Regions from separate parts of the Homo sapiens genome. Here regions 1 and 2 are each linked to region 3. The links are contacts of gene promoters, found by promoter capture Hi-C in human tissues and cell types (Jung and others, 2019). All regions are on one chromosome and are shown on one strand. The core of a region is centred on a gene start or on the middle of the fragment in contact, and the rest is flanking DNA. Distances in the headings are between cores, read along the strand shown. Region 1 holds the start of CNOT3 (CCR4-NOT transcription complex subunit 3). Region 2 holds the start of ZNF528 (zinc finger protein 528). Region 3 overlaps ZNF525 (zinc finger protein 525).

What was found. The method cuts DNA at HindIII sites, captures the fragments that hold promoters and counts their contacts. A contact is called where the count stands out against the background at its distance.
Region 1: the fragment with the promoter of CNOT3 here is called in contact with a fragment that was not itself captured in region 3 in 4 of the 25 tissues and cell types used here (dorsolateral prefrontal cortex, lymphoblastoid cells, ovary and 1 more).
Region 2: the fragment with the promoter of ZNF528 here is called in contact with a fragment that was not itself captured in region 3 in 3 of the 25 tissues and cell types used here (adrenal gland, dorsolateral prefrontal cortex and thymus).

What each region holds. Positions count from the first base shown.
Region 1 is chr19:54,135,986-54,139,636 of GRCh38, reverse strand. It overlaps CNOT3 (CCR4-NOT transcription complex subunit 3), which reads right to left and starts at 1,875. Exons shown (of 18, transcript NM_014516.4): 1 at 1,644-1,875. The HindIII fragment of the contact is 23,783 bases long and covers 1-3,651 here.
Region 2 is chr19:52,395,985-52,399,366 of GRCh38, reverse strand. ZNF528 (zinc finger protein 528) reads right to left here and starts at 1,518. Exons shown (of 7, transcript NM_032423.3): 1 at 1,463-1,518; 2 at 748-1,000. It overlaps ZNF528-AS1 (ZNF528 antisense RNA 1), which reads left to right and starts at 1,610. Exons shown (of 7, transcript NR_125345.1): 1 at 1,610-1,905; 2 at 2,100-2,172; 3 at 2,615-2,757; 4 at 2,868-3,002. It also overlaps a transcript of ZNF880 not described here. RefSeq lists an enhancer at 1,007-2,206. The HindIII fragment of the contact is 17,909 bases long and covers 1-3,382 here.
Region 3 is chr19:53,378,628-53,382,371 of GRCh38, reverse strand. ZNF525 (zinc finger protein 525) reads right to left here. Exons shown (of 4, transcript NM_001348156.2): 4 at 1-1,650. The coding sequence ends at 353. Among named protein-coding and RNA genes, the nearest start is that of ZNF765, 15 kb to the left of the region's middle. The HindIII fragment of the contact is 5,110 bases long and covers 1-3,744 here.

The sequences.
Region 1 (3,651 bases), core at 626-3,125, 760 kb before region 3:
GCCTTACGGTGGGGACACATGCAGAGGCGTGGACACCTCAAATCCAGAAAAGCAGCCATACCAATACCAAGGATGGCAAGAACCTTATCCCTGGGGGAGGTGACACCAAGAAAGGGTCCTTACCCTGGAGAGAAGGCACAGCCCCAGAGGGAAGAGCCCCCACCTCGCAGTACAGGAACCCGGGTCTAGGAAGCTTCCTACTCTCATGGGGTACCAGCAGCGGGGCCAGAAGGCGAAACCCTTGTTCTCCAACTGCTGACACCCAGCGTAAGGGTAGATGGGAAGTCAACAAACCCACAGTGTGGGATCTGATGCAAATATCAAGGGCAGTGGGCTTCTTGGTCCTTGGAGAGCTGACACCCTAAAGGAGGAGACTGGTGTGAAGATGGAAGAAGCCTCATACTCAGGCAGGGGTGAAGGGAGGGAGGGGAGACATCAAAACCCCTCACCAAAAGGACAGGAGAGCTCACCCCGGGGTGGGTGGCCGCCCTGCACTGAGAGGCAGGGACTGCTCAGAAAGAGGGGCTGGTGCTGCCCGCAGTGGGAGCTCACTAACATGGACAGCGTGGCGGCTTAGTGTCTTTCACCAGGCACCTGAGCGCCAGGGGATCCCAGCAGCCCCCAGCAACAAGACCACAGTGGTCCTGATATCACTGGGAGACGCCCACACCCAGAAGGTCGGAGAGTCACGATGCAGGGGAGTTCAAGGCTGCAAAGCCAGGGGCAGACGCCAGGATCAAAGAAGTGTGAGAGCTGAGACCAGACGTGGGCCACACTGAGGACGGTCCTGTACCCCAGGTGGGGGAAAGCCAAACTCCCCCAAAAAGGCAGGCGCCCAGTGCAGCGGGATGGCGAGGCTGGAGCCACCCAGGGCGCTACTCGCTATGAGAGGGAAGAGCTGCAGACTACAGAGGTGGAAACTTCGGCAAAGGCTCCAACTAACGGGGAGTTTCTCCTCCACTCCTCTCCCAAGAGGCTCCCATCCGATACAGACGGGCAGCTGGAACCTGAGATCCAGGGGAGGCTGCGCTCCCGGGAGCAGTGAGGAGGGATGCGGAGGGCGGCCTCGGTCCTGGGAAGGGTGACTCCCCCACCCAGCTGGGGTCCTCGTCCCGACCACCACCCCCCCTCCCCGCCACCGTCGAGGGAGAAGCCCCGGCGCGGAGGCTGCCCCACAACGCGAAGGACCGAGGCCGAGGGGGGCAGGCACCTGAGCCCCGAGAGGGCGGGCACCTGGGACCAGGGGCGCCTCCATCCTTCCAGCCAGGAGCCAATACCGACGCGGAGAGGGGCGGGCACCTCGCGCCCGGGAGGCTTCGCACCCTCACACCCCTACCGGGGGGCCCGACGCGATGCCACGCGGGGAGGCGGCGGCGGGCGGGGCCCGGGGTCCGGGTCGCGGAAGGACCCCCGGGAGGCGCTGAGGAACGTGAAAGAGGCGCAGGAACGGGAGGGCGAGAGGGAGGGAGCCGCCCCCCGCCGGGAGCCCCGCGCTGCAGAGGCGGCGGCAGGGGGCAGGCGAGGGGAGGCCATGTCGCGACAGACGGCGGTGTCGCCAGGGCGGGAGGCGGCGGGGAGGGCGGCCGATGGCGCCGGGGGGAGGAAGGGAAGGGGTCCGGCCCAGTCGAGCCTGACGCTCTCACCACAGGAGCTGGCGCCGCCGCTGAGGAGCGTATCGCGACAGGCGGGGGAGGCGAGCGCCCGCCGCCTTTTTCTCGCGCCCCGGGCCCGGGCGCTATCGCGATAGCGGCGCGAAGCGGAAGTGGGGTTGGGGGAGTGGGCCCGGGGTTGTTCTGACGACGGGGGTCGGGGCTCAAGGGAGGCCGCGGCGTCTGCCGATGGCTCCGCGGAAGCTGACCGGGCCCGGTCCAAGATGGCGGCGGCGGAGGAGGCCTCCCCTCCTCTCTTCTCGTCTCTGGCGCCGACCCGCCCCCGAGTCCCGAATATAGGCCAGTCATTGCTCCCGCTGAACGTCGCTCCTGACCCTTGGAGGCTTTCTATTGGTTCCTGGCAGGGATGCGCCCTGCCCCCTTTCGCGGATTGGGTGATCGCTCCAAGGCGCGGCGTTCGATTGGCCTCCCGCGCAGGCTGCTAGGATTGGCTCAGGTTTTCCTCCCCGCTCCTCCTCCTCCTCCCGCCTCAGGGCACAACACGCCAGCGCGAGGACCCGAACGTCAATCAAGAGACCTGTGTCGTGCTGATTGGATGTATCCGCCCCCCTCTCTTAAAACAATTGGTCTGGGGGAGGAGCTACGACAGTCCAGGGGCGGGAAGTCGTCCGTCAAGTTTAGAGCTCTTTTTAATTGGTTGCGGGGGCATATTCTGCCTTGAAGTCATTGGTTGGTCCTGGAAGTGGGTGGGGAAAGCGGAGGAAGGCATGGAGTGTGGGCGTTAGGGGCCGCGTACCTAATGGGAGACAGACAGGTGCCTTTAAAGCGGGGGCCGAGCCGAAGTCATCTGCCAATCAAAACAGCCACAGGGCCAAGTGGGAGGAGCTGGGCAAGAAAGTCCACCCCTTTTTCTTCGTTGGCCCTAAAAGTTATCATTCATGCTAGTTGGACCAATAGCGTGGCGAGTGGGCGGTAGCTGCTCGTAGAGCGTGTGAAAGAGGGTGTATGTAGCTGGCAGAAGTGGGACTTGGTCGCAACCGTTGCGTCCCGGCCAGGTAAGCAGCTTCCCTCTCAGCTGCCTCGTCTTTCTCCAAGTGCCTCTATGTTGGCACATCTCTGAAATTCATTATTTGCTGAGTGAAAGAAGAAAGGGACCAGAGACACTGCTTTAAGTCTCTGGCACCGTGCATAGCAGAATTGGTTGGGAAGCGTGAGGCATGGAGTTTTTGTCCTGCCCCTGCCTGGTTAGGCGACCAGATGGTGGGACAGTCATTCTCCTCTGCGTCTCCGCTTCCTTAGTGTGTTGAGGACGCTGCAGAAGGTACAGAGGAGACGGGTGGCTCCCTAATGCCTGCTCGTTTCAGGTCTCAGCTCTGTTGTCTTCTTGGAGAGAAAACTTCCCTGACCTCCCTCCCGGGCGGAGCGCTCCTGCGCGCCTTGTTCGTTAGGATTTATTTTTGTACGTCTACCGTCATTTTCGTAATTATTCGGTTTCCCTGTCTGGATTTTGCATCTCCAGCACTTAGCACGCAGGAAGTAGTCAGTAACCATTTGTCAAAGGAATAGATGAATGAATGTGAGGAATGACTTGTGATTGAAAACTTAACTAGACACTGAGACTTCCACGAACTGGGAGGCATTTGCCCAGGGTCACACAACCGAGATGGGAAGCCAGATTCGCCCCTTCCTGTCTAGGTGGTGGAAAGTAAGATAAATCCCAGGGAGAGGTGAACGTGAAGGAGGATGGAGCCGTTCAGCACCACCCGCATCAGAATGGTCTGAGGCAAGGGGGAGGAGGAATGCTTGCGAAAATGCATATTCGTAGGCCCACACACAGACAACGGGAATGAAGCCTAGAGTTATTGTTCTAGAGCTTTGCTATTCAAACTGTGGCCCCTGGACAAAGTATCGCTTCTCAGACATCTCCGGAATCACCTAGGAATGTGTTAAAATGCAAATTCTGCTTTTCTAACAAGTGCCGCAGTCCACGGTCCGCAGTTCACTTTGCACACCGCGGATCTAGCGATGACTTTCCAACTTG
Region 2 (3,382 bases), core at 269-2,768, 980 kb after region 3:
GTACTGGGATTACACGTGTGAGCCACAGCTCCTAGCCTCATGTGTTCTAAACAAATTTTATATTATAGAAAAATTAATATGTCACAATTCAATCATAATTTCCAATCAACTCACCACTCATCTGTAACCAGGGTCCCCCTCTTTCCTCACTACTGTTTCCCTGCCTCATTCTGTACATATCTCTCATTCTCATCTTTTTTCCTAGCTCTTTTTTTCTCTATTTTCCCCTAGGATTCTGTTCATTTTGAGTCCCTCCTCTTCTCTTTGTCCCATTCTTCCCTCTATTCCTTCTCTCCCACCTGTTCTGATCCATTTTTACAACTTGTTTCACCTCTTATTCCTCTTTCTGCCCAATCTTTCATTGTCCCTAATCTCCATATATTTCTGCCTCTTTCCTCCCACATCTCAGCTCCCCTTGGGGTCTCCCTGTTAAATTCCATCTTCGATATTACACACCCCTGTCCCCACTCTCTGGCACCCTTAGATCCCAGGCCTCCCCCTGCTGTGGTTCTCCCTGTTCTCCTTGTGACCAGCTGCCCCCTCTGGCTGTCCCAGCACCACGCTGCTCTGTCTGACCTGGCTCCAAATCCCTCCTCCTCTCCCCCCTCTGTCTGAGAAGCCTTCCCTATCTTGTTGAATTTCGTCTTTCTACAGACCCAGGTTTGTCTATATTTTTACAGTTACTTTTCTCCCCTGCTATTTTCTCGGCACCTTCTTTCACTGTGCCTCTGCAAACCCCTCACTCACCTTCTACTTTGCCTTCTGTTAATGGGTCTCTCATTCTTCATTTCTCTTTCAAAATTTCTCTATTTCCTCTGCCTCGTTCCCATCTCTTTTTCTCCACACATTCACAGGGAGGGGATTGGAATAAGATGCCCACTTCCGGAAGAGCTCATTTTCTGTGGGCTGGAAACTGGCTCGAGAGAACACTGGATGTCAGGAGACTGAAGTCACCCCCCACACTCGGGGTCAGGAGAACCGGTGGCTGGAAAAGGGAGGCCTGGGGAACAGAGGGTCCAGATTAAGGAGCAAAAAGGCAGGAGTGGGTCAGGAGAGGGGTGGAGTCTGCAGAAACCAGGTCTGGGCAGAGGACGAGGCCTCTCGTGCCCTGTTGGGGCGCTGAGCTCTAGGGGCAAAGAAGGGCGAGGCTAGGGGAACGGAGAGTGAGGATTTTACGTGGTGCGGGGCGTGTGTAGGGGTTACTAAAGGATTTGAAGCAGGTAAACCCCACGATAGGAGGTGTCTACGTGGGTAAATGACAAAAAGACCGGGCACACGACCAGCCTCCAAGCGATTTTAACACGCAGAAAGCGACTCCCAGACTCTCAAAGGATGTCTGAATTTACTCGGGGTGGAGGGAGCGGTGCCGGGATTTCAAGGTCTGCATGCCCCTCAGCTCCCGGGTATAGAAGCAGAGAAGAACTGGCTAGCCTAGACTTAACATAGACAAAGGGAAACTCACGCACTGCTGCGAAAACAGTTTCTCCCTGCAATCGGCTTCCGGGTCTACCGGAAACTGCGCTCTAGGCGTTCGCCCCCCGCGGTCCGCTTCCGGGTTTGCACGAAATTGCGCGCGCATCCTAGAGGCCGGACTGGCTGGGACCAGGGCGGGCCGGGACAAAGCCTGGGCCGGGCCTGCGCTTCCGTTCGCTTGACTGGCTGCGCTTGTTTTCAGGGTTTTGGTCTGAAAACGGATCTTACCTGCGCAGAGCAAAATCGGTTGTAGATTATATCCACGAAAATTCCTTCTATTAAAATGAATTTCAAGTCCCACCTACCCTGGAAGCAGAAAGAGAGAGAAGAGAGAGAGTAAAGAGAAAGAGAAAAGAAAGAGAAGTTGAAAAAGAGAAAGAAAACCAAGAAAGAAAGAGAAAAAAACCGAAAATAAATGGACAAGAAAGAAAAGTAAGGAGGGAAGGGAAGGGAGGAAGGGAAGGGAAGCTTTAGGAATTGAATTAACACACTTTGGAATTGTCTGTGAAGGGGATGATGCAAGCTAAAATGTGAAATGCAAAACCCTGCCAGGGTAGAATGTTCTATTTCATGCCAGTGCCCATAGAAGATAAATACTTTTCATTTATCTTCCCCATTCACTCTAGACGGTGAAGGTCAACCCTGTGCTCAATTCCAGAGACTTTCCTAGGGACATCGTGTTGGGCATGGAGGACTAAGGCCAGTGTGAAGATAAGTCACCGATTCTTTAAAAAAAAAAAGCCAGTAACTTATAAAAATAGCCATAAACGACGTAGTTTTTTGTTGTTGTTGTTGTTTTGAGACAGCGTCTCCCTCTGTCCCCCAGGCGGGAGTACAGTGGCAGGCACTCAGCTCACTGTAACCTCCGCCTCCTGGGTTCAAGTGATTCTCTTGCCCCAGCCTCCAGAGTAGCCACCACGCCCGGTCCAACTTAGTTTTTTAATACTTTTTAAAATTTTAAGACAGGGTCTCTGCCACCGAGGCTGAAATGCAGTGGCGCAATCATAGCTCACTGCAACCTTGACTTCCTGGGGTCCTGGGCAGGTGACCCCCTGTCTCAGCCTGCCGAGTAGCTGTGAGTAAAGGCCTGTGCCTCTCCACTGTGCTAATTTTCTACTGTTTGTTGCTTTGTTTTTAATAGAGATGTAGTCTGGTTTTGTTGCCCAGGCTGGTCTCCAGCTTCTAGCCTCAAGCAGTCTTCCCATCTGCTCCTACCAAAGTGCTCGGATTATAGGCATGAATCACCTTGCATGGGAGATAAGGACCCCCACATCAAGCCCTCAGGTTATTTTTGAAACACAAATACATAAGGCCCACAAGCAGGCCCATTGGCTGCAGACAGTGGGGTCACCTGAAGAACTTTTCTTTGATCTGAGTACCAACTTCTCACCTAGGTCACTGGGATCCTGGACTACGGCACTGCTCCAGGCAGGCCTGGTTATCCTGCTTGAGGCAGCAATCCTCTTGAGCCTAGTGAAATGCAACTGGCTGTACCTCAATGATGTTGCCCTGAGATTCTGCCAGTCGAGGTATTACTTCAATCTCCTGAGACCAGCCTCTACCTCCAGATCCAGGGAGGTCAGTGCACATGTAAATGGACTAGCTTTATTAAAGGGGATATCTGGGCCAGGCGTGGTGGCTCACGCCTGTAATCCCAATACTTTGGGAGGCCGAGGAGGGCAGATCACCTGAGGTCGGGAATTAGAGACCAGCCTGGTTAACATGGTGAAACGAAGTCTCTACTAAAAATACAAAAAAAAAAAAAAAAAAAATTAGCCAGGCATGGTGGCACACGCCTGTAGTCCCAGCTACTCGAGAGGCTGAGACACAAGAATTGCTTGAATCTGGGAGGTGGAGGTGCAGTAAGCCAAGATTGCGCCACTGCACTCCAGCCTGGGAGACAGAGCGA
Region 3 (3,744 bases), core at 239-2,738:
TATGTCTTTCAAGATTTGATTTGTATCTGAAAGTTTCATCACATTCTTCACATTTGTAAGGTTTCTCTCCAGTATGAAGTCTATGATGGCATGTAAGGGATGATGTATGACTGAAGGTCTTGCCACACCTATTACACCTGTAAGGTTTCTCACCAGTGTGAATTCTCCTATGTCTTTCAAGGTTTGATTTGAAACTGAAAGCTTCATCACATTCTTCACATTTGTAAGGTTTCTCTCCACTATGAAATTTATGATGGTATACAATGGATGACGTATGACTGAAGATCTTGCCACAATCATTACACTTATAACATTTCTCTCCAGTATGAATTTTCTGACGTATTTCAAGATTTTATTTGAAACTGTAAGCCTTGTCACATTCTCCACACTTGCAAGGTTTCTCTCCACTATGAAGTCTACAATGGCAGGTAAGGGATAACTCCTGACTGAAGGTCTTGCCACACTCATTACATTTGTACAGTTTCTCTCCATTATGAATTCTCCTATGTCTTTCAAGACTTGATTTGAAACGGAAAGCTTCATCACATTCTTCACACTTGTAAGGTTTCTCTCCAGTATGAAGTCTACGATGGCATGTAAGGGTTGACATATGACTGAAGGTCTTGCCACAATCATTACACTTGTATGGTTTCTCTCCAGTATGAGTTATCCTATGACTTTCAAGGTTTGATTTGAAACTGAAAGCTTTGTCACATTCTTCACATTCGTAAGGTTTCTTTCCAGTATGAATGCTACGATGGCATGCAAGGTATGACTTCTGACTAAAGGTCTTGCCACACTCATTACACTTATGTGGTTTCTCTCCAGTATGAATTCTCCTATGTCTTTGAAGGGCTGAATTGTGTCTGAAAGCTTTGTCACATTCTTCACATTTGTAAGGTTTCTCTCCAGTATGAAGTCGATGATGATATGTAAGGGATGACATCTGACTGAAGGACTTGCCACACTCATTACACTTGTAAGGTTTCTCACCAGTGTGACATCTACGATGGCGTGCAAGGTATCGCTTCCGAATAAAGACCTTGTCACATACATCACATTTATATTGTTTCTCTCCTAGATGAATAATCTGATGTTTCCTTAAGAGTGAGCTATAATTAAAGGCTTTGCCACTCTCAATACATTGGAAAGATTTTTCTCTCATGCGTACTTCCTGTCTTTGTGTGAGTAATGAATAATTCAGAAAATTATCCCCATAGTTATTAGATATATGGGTTTTGGGCCTACAAGAAATTCTTTGGGCTGTTGAAACCGAGGAAGCATCGTTGATAGACTTCTCCACTTGATTATTAATTTTCCCTTTGGGCTGAAATATGTGGAGTTCAGACAGATGTGAATGAAAGCTTGATCCAAGCTGATATTTAATAGGCTTGTTTCCAGCATGCCTGTGATCATATTGCTCTGTACTACCCATCAATTTTTTGATTTTTGTCATGGGTGCTTCATGGCCATTTCTTTCATCTTCTTGCCACTGAAACTCAAAGTTATGAATATCTTTCTCAATTTCCTGGAAGGAAAAATCTCCAATGTGATGACGTTCATGTCTTTGCAATGTCCCTGTGTGGATCACTTCTGTATTGCCTTGTGCTGTTGATGAGAACTCCTTCATTGTGCATTTGGAAGAGATACCTACAAAATATAAACACTAATAGGTACACAAAAGACAATACTGATTTTAAACTTCCCAAACATGATCTTCAAAGTTTAGGAACACAAAATCGTAAGATTCTTTAATAAATAAAGGGCGATTACATGTGCTTCAAATTATTATTATGAAAGCTTATTTCCAATATCATGACAAAACACTGAAGGGCACAAACATGTGTAAGCCTAAAATAAGGAGTATTTTTCCACTGTGACCCTAAAGTGTCTAACAGTTTGCAAAAGACATATCACTGTCACATCAATGAAAAGTATATATTCTTCATATTTACAGCATACTTACTGTATACAAATAAATACTAAAGGACCACACAATATAATATACTGGTAAATAATCCACAGCAAGCTCATGTAAGGATAACCAAAATCAATGGAAATTCTGTATTGTTAAATAATCATAGCACTGAGAAGATAAGAAAAGTTTACAAAATTTAGCAAGGCATGGTGGTGCACGTCTGTACTCCCAGCTACTCGCAAGGGTGAGGTACAAGAATTGCTTGAACCCAAGAGGCAGAGGTTGCAGTGAGCCGAGATCGCACCACTGTACTTCAGCCTGGATGACAAAGTGAGACTCCATCTCAAAAAAAAAAAAATATTTTTCTGAATAACTGTCATAAAATTACCTATATCCATGCAGAAAAGGCATATTGTAACATTTAAAATTTTTTTTTTATTTTTGTATTTTTGAGACAATGTTTCACTGTGTCACAACAGGCTGGAGGGCAATGGCCTGATCTCAGCTCACTGCAACCTCCACCTTTTGGGTTCAAGCCATTCTCCTGCCTCAGCCTCCTGAGTACATGGGATTACAGGCACATGCCAGCATGCTTGGCTAATTTTTGTATTTTTAGTAGAGATAGGGTTACATCATATTGGCCAGGCTGGCCTTGAACTTTTGACCTCAAGTGATCCACCCGCCTCAGCCTCCCAAAGTCCTGGGATTGCAGGCGTGAGCCACAGCACCCGCTGGCACTTTGTGACATTAACTAGTAAACTGTGTCAGTTATATTGCATACCACATACCGAAAAGCTTTATGTAAAATCATAAAAATGAATTGGTAAAATAACTGTAACGCATAAAACCAGCAAGCAAATCATAAGTACATTTATACAAACTGCAGAATTCTAAACAATTCCCTGTTAAGAAAAAAGCACAACTTCTACTTACCACCAGCACACAATATAAGAACTGAAATACATGTTAAGATCACTACCTTCTGATGTATGAGGTCAAAAAAATATGCAGCATTATAATGAATAAGAATTCACTAACAGCCGGGTGCAGTGGCTCATGCCTGTAATTCCAGCACTTTGGGAGGCCGAGGTGGGAAGACCATGAGGTCAGGAGTTCAAGAATAGCCTGGCCAACGTGGTGAAACCATAACTCTACTAAAAATACAAAAAAATTAGCTGGGTGTGGTGGCGGGTGCCTGTAATCTCAGCTACTCAGAAGGCTGAGGCAAGAGAATCGTTTGAACCCAGGAGGTAGAGTTTGTGGTGAGCCAAGGTCCCACCACTGCACTCCAGCTTGAGTGACAGGGTGAGACTTCGTCTCTAAGAAAAAAAAAAAGAATTGACTAATAGTGCCGGAGGGTGCAATTATGATGTCACAACTACATTTATGAAACAGCCAGGCAATACAGCAATTCTATATATATATATACATTGCCCTATGTATCTAGTTCACTATGCATAAAATATAAAACATAGAATGTGTACTGGGAAAATTTATAAACTGAGATCAGAGAAAACATTGTATGAAACAAATTAAACAATAAAAACATAAATAAGATGATGCAGGCTCCCTGGTCTGAATGTTTGTATTGGCCAAACGCCATGTTCAGAGTTCTTATTCTCCAATAGGATGTTCCTGCAGATGGGGCCTTTGAGACAATTTGGTCACGGGTGTTGACTACTCGTGAATAGGACTTGTGCTTTCATAAAAAGAGACATTAAAGAGCTCGTTGCCTGTTCCTGTTTCCACCATGTCAGGACATGGCAGGAAGATGGCTGGGCTAAACCATGAGGAAGGCTCTCACCAGGAACCAATGTGGCTGGCAC